Regions from separate parts of the Homo sapiens genome. Here regions 1 and 2 are each linked to region 3. The links are contacts of gene promoters, found by promoter capture Hi-C in blood cells and fetal thymus (Javierre and others, 2016). All regions are on one chromosome and are shown on one strand. The core of a region is centred on a gene start or on the middle of the fragment in contact, and the rest is flanking DNA. Distances in the headings are between cores, read along the strand shown. Region 1 overlaps GNAI3 (G protein subunit alpha i3). Region 2 has its middle 7.0 kb from the start of GSTM4. Region 3 holds the start of CSF1 (colony stimulating factor 1).

Region 1 (3,420 bases), core at 98-2,597, 320 kb before region 3:
TAGACCTAAGTATCAGCTAAAACACAAAGCAGTGCAGATCTTTTTACTATAGGAGGTAGTTGAGGATGCTGTTGATAGAAGTTCAGCAGTTGACTCAGAATACCAAGTAAGTCACCCAGAAGACAGTATTGGACTAAAACTAATATGGAGTGTAACATAAAGTTTGTGAACAGTTGAGACTTTATTAATTAGGTTTAAGTAAGACTCGGAGTTTGGAAATATTGGTCAAGGCTGTTTTTTAGTTATTGGGTTCATAGAATCCTACCATAAAAATATAATTTATTTGTTTTTACAATTAATCTCTAATTTTTTTTTTAAGGTAAGGAAAACAAACTTAATAGGGAGAAGTTATGGAAGCAGAGTGCAAATAGGGCATTTAGAGGCAAACCATTTTGAGAGTCAGAACATGGGTGCTGGAGTTAGAGTGCCTAGGTTCAGATCCCCAGTCCCTGTTTGTTAGTAGTGTACCTTTGAGCAAATCATTTAACATTGAATGTGCCTCAATTTCTTTATCTGTATAATTGGGATAATAATAATAGTACTTCTAGGAGTGTTACAAGGGCAAAATGAGTTAAGATGTTTAGTAGTAGTGTCTGGCACCATGGTAAGCACTCAATAAATATACCATTATTATTATTATCTCAAACTGTTTTATTTAGCTCTTTGCTTTTCCTGTCTTTTCCCCTCCTTCCTTTAATCCATTTCAGTGCTTATTCTGCTGACTTTTCACACATCTGGTACAAGCTTTGATAGAGAAGAGGCTCAGCTATCTAAAATGAGAATCTAGATTATTCACAAGTTTTATTTTCTCATGTTGTTGTCTTGTACTTTTAGCCAGGATAATTATTTTGACTGCATTTAATCTATTCTTTTTCTTCTATTATAAATGAAGTTTTGAATATGTAATAGTGGGAAGTTTCCTAATCATTTCAGTTTAGGGGAAGGTGTATGTGTGACCTTGCTGAATTTGCTTTCTTTCCCCTTGCGCAGGATGTTTGATGTAGGTGGCCAAAGATCAGAACGAAAAAAGTGGATTCACTGTTTTGAGGGAGTGACAGCAATTATCTTCTGTGTGGCCCTCAGTGATTATGACCTTGTTCTGGCTGAGGACGAGGAGATGGTATGTTGGAGCTTCTGGTAAAAAGCCTGTCTAATGTAGCCAGGAAATGGAAAATAACTTATTAGGAAGATTATCTGCATCCATTTCCTCATTCAACCAAAACTTAGTATCTTTAATTTTTTTGATCTGTGCCCTATTACTCTAAAAAAGATGTTATAGCCACCTTGAGTATGTGGAAAGGATGTTAGCCAGCCCTTCCTCCTACCTCCTCTCCCCCAAAAATTACAAAAATGAGGACTGACACTCAACTTTATCTTATTGGTGTTTGACTTATTTCCGTGAATGCCATTTAGTGCTGCAAAACTTGTTGGTTTGTCTTTTTCATTAACTTAATCCACTTTTACTATTTGCTACTGACCTATCATCCTTTATTTCTTTTTCAGAACCGAATGCATGAAAGCATGAAACTGTTTGACAGCATTTGTAATAACAAATGGTTTACAGAAACTTCAATCATTCTCTTCCTTAACAAGAAAGACCTTTTTGAGGAAAAAATAAAGAGGAGTCCGTTAACTATCTGTTATCCAGAATACACAGGTAAGGGGTTATGAAAGATTTTATTGGAGGTACACATCTTACTTAGATCAACACTTTGGTGGCATTCATAAAACTGCCTTTTTTTTTTTAATGATTGATTGGGAGAGTATTCAGTGGTAGTGGCATTGGCATTAAGCCTGTGATTAAAAGCCCCTAAGTCAAGAGTGCCATATCAGACACAATTGAGTTTTCTGTGTTTATTTTAAATTTCTATCTTCATTTTTTGAGGAAAATACAAAAGGAGAAAAAGTAAATTTGGGAGCTGGGCATGGTGGCTATAATTCTAGCTACTTGGAAGCTTGAGGCAGGAGGATCATTTGAGCCCAAGAGTTTGAGATCAGTCTAGGCAACATAGTGACACCCCCCTGCCTCACAAAAAATAAAGTAAAATTTGGTATATGTTGAAGAAAATACAAGGGTAAATTTTAATCATTGTGCCCAAGAGACTGACATGTAGTTGCAGAGAGACATAAATAATTTTATTATAGTGTTTAATTGCACATAAATAATTTTATTATAGTGTAAAATATGCATTAATAGAAGTGGAATAGAAGTGGTTACTTCTGATGGGGTCACTGTAGTCTTTTTCTAGAGCTACTAAGAGGATGAAATAGAAATCATCAGGCAGACGGGAATAAAAGCATTTTAGAAAAGAGGAATTGCATATATGAGAATATGGAGGTAGGAAAATGGTATGACCAGTTGTGGAACCCAGAAGGAATTTGGTATTACTAGAGTTTACAGTGGCAGGGAAGAAGTGGTTGGAGAGATGGTCAGAGATCAACTCATGGAGGGCCTTATATCTCATGCTGAGACGATGATCAGTTAAAGGTTTAATATCCTACCATGATCCATATCATGGGGTGCATGATATAGAAGAAACTGTGCTTGAGAAAGATTATGCAATAAATAATAAAGATAGATAGTAGGGGATTTGAATTAGTAAGAACTCAGGATGGAAATAAAAACTTTTGATGGGGATTAAGGGATATATCATAGAACCCAAGGGCAAGAATGGACAGGTCTTAGAATGGAATTAGAACTAGGAAATAATTGTCAGGAACCCTGGAAGCACTCTTTATCCCCATCTTTTTTCTCTCCTCTCTGTGTATCTTTTTTATTATTCTTTCTTTCCTAACCAGCTTTCTCTGCTATTCAGTTTATGTGATAACAGCCTAGTCACAGTTTCTGTATCTCTGGTAAAAAGATCAGACTAGGCTGGGCGCGGTGGCTCACGCCTGTAATCCCAGCACTTTGGGAGGCCGAGGCGGGTGAATCATGAGGTTAGGAGATCGAGACCATCCTGGCTAACACAGTGAAACCCCGTCTCCACTAAAAATACAAAAAAAATTAGTTGGGCTTGGTGGCAGGCACCTGTAGTCCCAGCTACTCGGGAGGCTGAGGCAGGAGAATGGCATGAACCCGGGAGGCAGAGCTTGCAGTGAGCCGAGATCGCGCCACTGCACTCCAGCCTGGGCGACTGAGCAAAAAAAAAAAAAAGATCAGACTAGACTGGGATTGCTTGGCCTTGGTTTCAAATTCCAAGGAGAGAGATTCTGGCCGTGGTTAAGTCAGGCAGAAATCTGTAGGCCAATCAGTTGAGGTCAGGGGCACAAATGTAACTGCCAGGGATGGATCACTATGAAACTTATAGATCAGAATCAGGTATTTCCAGAGAAGGGGAACTCTTATTAGCAGAGACACTGTAAATGCTTTCTATAATAAAGTGAGGCTGGGTGCAGTGGCTCATGCCTGTAATCCCA
Region 2 (3,126 bases), core at 627-3,126, 260 kb before region 3:
GCGGGTATTCTTTGCCTTGTTCCTGATCTTACAGACAAAGCTTTCAGTTTTTCATTGTTGAGTATAATGTTAGCTGTGAGCTTGTCATATATGGTCTTTATTTTGTCAAGGAAAATTCCTTTTATACCTAGTTTGTTGAGAGTTTTTACTATGAAAAGATGTTGAATTTTGTCAAATGCTTTTTCTGCATCTATTGAGATGATCATTTGATGTTTATCCTTCATTTTGTTAACGTGGTGTGTCACATTAATTGTTTTACATATGATGAGCCATCCTTGCAAAGGACTTGAATAGACATTTCTCAAAAGAAAGCATACAAATGGCCAACAGGTATATGAAAAGATGCTCAACATCACTAATCATAAGAGAAATGCAAATCAAAACCACAATGAAATATCACTTCACACCTGTTAGAGTGGCTATTGTCAAAAAAAAAAAAAAAAAAAAAAAAAAAAAAGGTAAAGAAAGTGAGACAAGCTCCCAACTGGTAACAAGTGCTGTTGAGGAGAAATTGGAACTTTTGTACACGGTTGGTGGGAAAGTAAAATTGTGCAGCCACTGTGGAAAACAATATAGAGGTTCATAAAAGAATGAAAAATAGAACTACCAAATGATCCAGCAATCCCACTTCTGGGTATATATTCAAAAGAACTGAAGGATCCCAAAGAGATATTAGCAGTCCTTTGTTCATTGTAGCATTATTCACAATATCCAAGACATGAAAATGACCTAACTATTCATCAACAGATGAATGAATAAAGAAAATTTGGTATGTACATTCAGTGAAATATTAATCAGTCTTAAAAAGAAGGAAATTCTGCAATATATAACACTATGGATGAACCTGGAGGACATTATGCTAAGTGAAATTAGCTCGTCACAGAAGAACAAATACTGCATGATTCCACTGACATGGGGTATCCAAAATAGGCCAACTCATAGAAACAAAGTAGAATGACGGTTTTCAGGGGATCGGGAGAGGAGGAAATTAAAACCAATCCAACTGTCCAGAGACAGTTTTTGTTTTGTTTTGTTTTGTTTTGTTTTGAGACGGAGTCTCGCTCTGTCGCTCACGCTGGAGTGCAGTGGCGCGATCTCGGCTCACTGCAAGCTCCGCCTCCCGGGTTCACGCCATTCTCCTGCCCCAGCCTCCCAAGTAGCTGGGACTACAGGCGCCCGCCACCACGCCCGGCTAATTTTTCGTGCTTTTAGTAGAGACGGGGTTTCACCGTGTTAGCCAGGATGGTCTCGATCTCCTGATCTCGTGATCCGCCCGCCTCGGCCTCCCAAAGTGCTGGGATTACAGGCGTGAGCCACCGCGCCTGGACATAGACAGTTTTTAAAAAATAAACTTAAAGCTTGAAACTCACCAGATCCAGACAATTAAATACCAGGCCTCTCAGAAGGTATCAAAGAACGGAAACTCACCAGATCATCACATCCAGACAATGAGATGCCAGGCCCCTCATTCATCATGATTGCTTCCTTAGCCCTTCAGAATTCCTGTTTTCCCATACATTGTTACATTTTTTTCTCTGCTATATAAACCCCTAATTTTAGCCAGTCAGGGAGATGGATTTGAGACTGATCTCTCATCTCCCCTACTGCAGCACTCTATTAAAGCCTTCTTCCTTGGCAGTAATCATCTCAGCCGTTGGCTATCTGTGCAGCAAACAGCAGGACTCAGACTGAATCCCTGGTGTTTCGGTAACAAAATGGAGAGTTGCTATTCAAGAGGTATAAAGTTTCAGTTATACAAGATAAACATATTCTAGATATCTGCTATACAACACCGTGCTCATAGTTAACAATACTGTGTACCTGTTTACTTAAAAATTTGTTAAGAGAGTATGCGGCAGGAGAATAGGGTCTGGAGGCAGGGAACCTAAGGCTGATTCACACTGAATTTCTAGAGCTAAATCGAAAGGAAAATCCCAACTTTCCATGCCTAAGTAACAAAAGGACCAGAAGCTACTCCCTTTGCAAACCCCCTGCTTTTCTGCTCTGCAGATGGAAAATGGACAGTTCCTCTGATTGGTTGCTTTCTGCAGCCAATCAGATATTTGCATAGAAGTGTAACTTTGTAACTTCACTTCAGCCTCTGATTGTGGACCACTATTCATTTGCATGGGGTGAACACCAAGTGGCCAATGGCAAACTTCTAGGAGGTATTTGGACCCCAAAAGATTCTGAATCCGGGCTCTTGAGCCCCTATGCTTGGCCTGCTCCCACCCTGTGGAGTGTACTTTCATTTTCAATAAATGAAAATTTGTTTGCTCCTTGTTTTGTTTGTGCGTTCTGTCCAGTTCTTTGTTCAAAATGCGAAGAACCTGAACGCCCTCCACTGGTAACAAGCAGATCTCATTTTAAGTGTTTTTATTACAACTTAAAAAAGAAAGCTTTAATTTGTTACCTATTTGTATATTTATATATCTGTGTATGCCTAAATGCATACAAATAAAGGAATATTAATAGAGCCTTTATTATAATCTATTAGAAAATTATGTACCAAAGGAGTAAAATTAGGATTTGGCTCTGTCATGTAAAATGACTCAGTTGTTTTGCACCCAGATTACTAGAGGTTATTTTTTTTCACCAAATTATTCTGTTAACTCTCAGTGTTTTTCACATGCTCTTAAAACATCTTGTTAGAAATTCCCTTGGATAGCCCTGACCTGATTTTATTTGTTCATATTTTAAAATGCTATCACAGACCTAAATTCACCCTTAAAGTAGAGACCACTCCAGAAATTAAATCAGCTCCAATGACTGAAATAATTGCCTGCATCTGGGTCTGCTGGCTGCTAAAGTGTAAAAGAGTAAGCATATACACTAATGGCAGATGCACTTTTGGGGAGTCTGTGAATTGGGAATGCTTTGGAAATGAAGAGTTTTCTAACCTCCACAAAAATCTGCAAAAATTGGATGACGGATTAAAAATAAAACTTTCAGCTGCTTTGCTGTTACCTGAGGAAATAGCTGTAATAAAAGTAGACCACCATTCAATGCACAAAGACCCAGAATTTCTAGTAATACTTTAGCTGGCCACCATGCTAACCCCAGTAGCGTCACCAAGATCAATGCTCCTGCAAATCACACAGAAAAGAGGGGTCTTGGAGGATTCAA
Region 3 (3,200 bases), core at 433-2,932:
TCAACAAGTCTGTTGGTTTATCTTTCTCAGGTTACTTCCTCTAACCTTTTATCAGTCTTAAGAACTGTGGTGTCAACATGTTATCTGAAATCATTATTGTACAGTGACCATGTCATTGTTGTATCCCCAGGGCCCAGCACGGTGCCTAGCATCTGGTAGCACATATTTGTCAAAAGAACAAAGTATTCTCTAATGGCATCATTCAACTCAGCCATCATTAACTTGGTACCTATTATGTGCTAGGTACCATTGATCCAGAGGTGACTGAGCATGGGTGCCACCTGGAAGAAGTCTCGGTCTAGGGTGGGGACAGAATGTAACCATCGGTACCACCTTAAACACTTCGAAAAGTACTGTGGAGAATGAATGGATGGCAAATGACTTATCAGAGCCAGCATTGAGGAATGAGCCAAGTCCAATGGGAACACAGGAAAAGGACCCTTTGCTCTGCCAGGAGAGTCACAGAAGGCTTTGCTGGTGGAGGATGAGATGCAATTTCAGCCTGAAATGATGAGGAGTTTGTCTTCAGCCATGTGGAGAAAGGAGCATTCCAGGCAGAGGGACCAGTCTGAGCAAAGGCATTCGGGTGTAAAATTATTGCCTAGGATTGGAGTGAAGGATATGTAGCGCTACTGACAAGAGACTCCTCTTCAAGAGCAGGCCACATATCCTTTATTTCCCAGGGGGTGGAAACGGGCAACCTCACAGAGGAATTGAATCATAATGAATTGAAGAAAGAAAAATCTCCTGAAGTTGGCATTATAATTAATAGGCTTAGGCTCATCCTACTAGTCCTCACTTAGACTCATTCTCATGTAGAAACAAAACGTGATTAATCACCTCAGTAAGTGCAATTTCCAAAAACATCCAGGGAAATCTAGGGTCCAGGTGCAGGACCTTTCCAATCTGAGTTGGATTTTGCCTCCAGGAGAGAGCATGGGTACCAGCCAGCATTTTCATCATCTAAGGGTCAGGTGCCTTGAAGTGTCTGCTGGCACCCAGGGAAGAGCCCCCCAGCTTGCTGTCACAGGACACAGCTGCTCCCTTCCTGGCCAGGTAGCTGGCCTCCCTCCCAGAATGGGACTTGAAGCTGGCCGGGCTGCTTGGGGGCTGCAGAGGAAGAAGGGGGCTGCCGGCAAACCTGCTGACTCAGGCTCCACGAGGGAGCAAGTAACACTGGACTCCTTTCGGCACTCCGAGAATGGGGTGGGGGCGTCTTCAAAGGATTTCCCTCCCTTCCCAGTGCTTGTCCCTGCTCTCGGTCCGTTTTCTGCTAAGATTTGGGGATTTTCAGGCCTGGAGGGAAAGTCCCTTGGGACGATCATAGAGCGCTAGCACTGAATCAGCCTGGAGAGCGCGGAAGGAAAGGGTCGGTCCGCAGAGGGCGCGGGGAAGGCAGGGTGGGGACGCGGTGGAGCCCGCGCTCGTTTGCTGAAGGCTTGGAAGTGCAGCGCAGAAGACAGAGGGTGACTAGGAAGACGCGCGAGCGGGGCTGGCCGGCCGGCGGGTGGGGGAGGGGAGGCGGGGGAAGGCGGCTGAGTGGGCCTCTGGAGTGTGTGTGTCTGTGTCAGTGTGTGTGTGTGTGTGTGTATGTGTGTGTCTGGCGCCTGGCCAGGGTGATTTCCCATAAACCACATGCCCCCCAGTCCTCTCTTAAAAGGCTGTGCCGAGGGCTGGCCAGTGAGGCTCGGCCCGGGGAAAGTGAAAGTTTGCCTGGGTCCTCTCGGCGCCAGAGCCGCTCTCCGCATCCCAGGACAGCGGTGCGGCCCTCGGCCGGGGCGCCCACTCCGCAGCAGCCAGCGAGCGAGCGAGCGAGCGAGGGCGGCCGACGCGCCCGGCCGGGACCCAGCTGCCCGTATGACCGCGCCGGGCGCCGCCGGGCGCTGCCCTCCCACGGTAAGCGACGGCCGCGGCGCTGGGCCCGGGACGGGCTGGGGCGGGGGCTCGGCGGCCAGGCGGCCGGGAGCGGCCCCTCGGAGCCGACAGCCTGGGCGCGCCGGCTGCACTGGCCCGGCGTTCCCGCCGCGGACGAACCGCCTTTGCGCACGGACTGGGCCCTGGCGCCAGGGCGGAGGCCGGTGGCGGCCCTGCAGCTGCACCGGGACTGCCAGGCTTCCCTGGGAAACGGAGGGCTGCTCACCCCATTGCACGGAGGGGAACACTGAGCCACCTGCAGGCAGGAGCCCCCGCTCAGCCAGGGTGCCCTGCCTCTCTCCCTACCCGCCACCACCAAGGCACGGGCGGAGTGGCTGTGCGCTGAGTGTGTGCCCTCCCCGGTGGGCACCTTCCTCATCGGCCACACACGTGCTTCCAAGGCCCTGCTGAGGAGTGGGCGCTTCTGGGCAGGGAAAGTTCAGGGGGTCAACCAGCTTATAGAACGCCAGGGACTTGCTGGCAGAGGGACGGAGAGGGGCAAGCCACTGCTTGTTCCAGCCCACAGGCAGGAGCTACGGAGGACTTGGGTGGCTGTTTGGGGGGTGGGGTGGGGGACGGCAACAGCCGGCAAACAGCCCCCCACCCCCGGGGCTGCTTGGGGCTAGCTCAGAATCTCTTTTTCTTGCAAATTCTGGTTTCATCGGTTGGGGAGATTCTGGGCTTTGTGGTGGTTTATGGTGGTTTGCAGTGCTTGAGGAAAATGGAAAGAGGGTTTGGTGTTGCAGAGCTGTGTCCAGGGGCAGGGTCTGCTCCTGACTGCGTAAGGGACGCCCTGCCCCAACTGTGGCGGTAGCAGATGCAGCCATAGAAAGTGAGGGTGGCACTGTTCATGACCAGTCAGTGGGCTCATAATAGATTTGCTTCTGAGGAGTCCTGGAAGAAAATGAGAGGGGAAACCTGGGGGGAAAAGAGCAGAAAATTATTTGGGGGTAGAGGAGAGCGGGCTGCAGGTGAGGTGAGAGAGAAAGGGAAGAGTGGGTCCACAGAAAGAAAGTGCCTCACTGAGAGAGAGGAGATAGAGTTGAGAGGGGAAGGGAGAAGGGTTAGCCATAGGCAGAAAGCAAAGCTTCGGGGCTGAAGGGGAGACCATGAGGAAAGAAGAGAAAGACAAGGGGGCTGTGTTTAGACAGGGGAAGTCCAAGGGCCCGGTTCTGCCAGGTCTCTCCAGAGGCCTTGTTGAGGGGGAAGATGAAATGGAATAGGATAGGTGGCAGAGGAGGCTGGACAGCTGGACTGAGGTGTCCTAGCATCTCTGAGCCTGCAGC

Evidence for each region. The method cuts DNA at HindIII sites, captures the fragments that hold promoters and counts their contacts. A CHiCAGO score of 5 or more calls a contact.
Region 1: a fragment that was not itself captured here is called in contact with the fragment with the promoter of CSF1 in region 3 in 1 of 17 cell types (erythroblasts); the score reaches 6.0 in erythroblasts.
Region 2: a contact is called between a fragment that was not itself captured here and the fragment with the promoter of CSF1 in region 3, in 8 of 17 cell types (M1 macrophages, M0 macrophages, M2 macrophages and 5 more). The highest score is 14.7, in M1 macrophages.

What each region holds. Positions count from the first base shown.
Region 1 is chr1:109,585,226-109,588,645 of GRCh38, forward strand. GNAI3 (G protein subunit alpha i3) reads left to right here. Exons shown (of 9, transcript NM_006496.4): 6 at 991-1,120; 7 at 1,504-1,657. Among named protein-coding and RNA genes, the nearest start is that of MIR197, 12 kb to the right of the region's middle. The HindIII fragment of the contact is 1,211 bases long and covers 743-1,953 here.
Region 2 is chr1:109,647,502-109,650,627 of GRCh38, forward strand. No RefSeq gene overlaps it. Among named protein-coding and RNA genes, the nearest start is that of GSTM4, 7.0 kb to the right of the region's middle. The HindIII fragment of the contact is 1,041 bases long and covers 1,357-2,397 here.
Region 3 is chr1:109,909,167-109,912,366 of GRCh38, forward strand. It overlaps CSF1 (colony stimulating factor 1), which reads left to right and starts at 1,683. Exons shown (of 9, transcript NM_000757.6): 1 at 1,683-1,896. The coding sequence starts at 1,858. RefSeq lists silencers at 1,777-1,946, 1,997-2,106 and enhancers at 1,892-2,392, 2,393-2,893, 2,970-3,069. The HindIII fragment of the contact is 10,099 bases long and covers 1-2,999 here.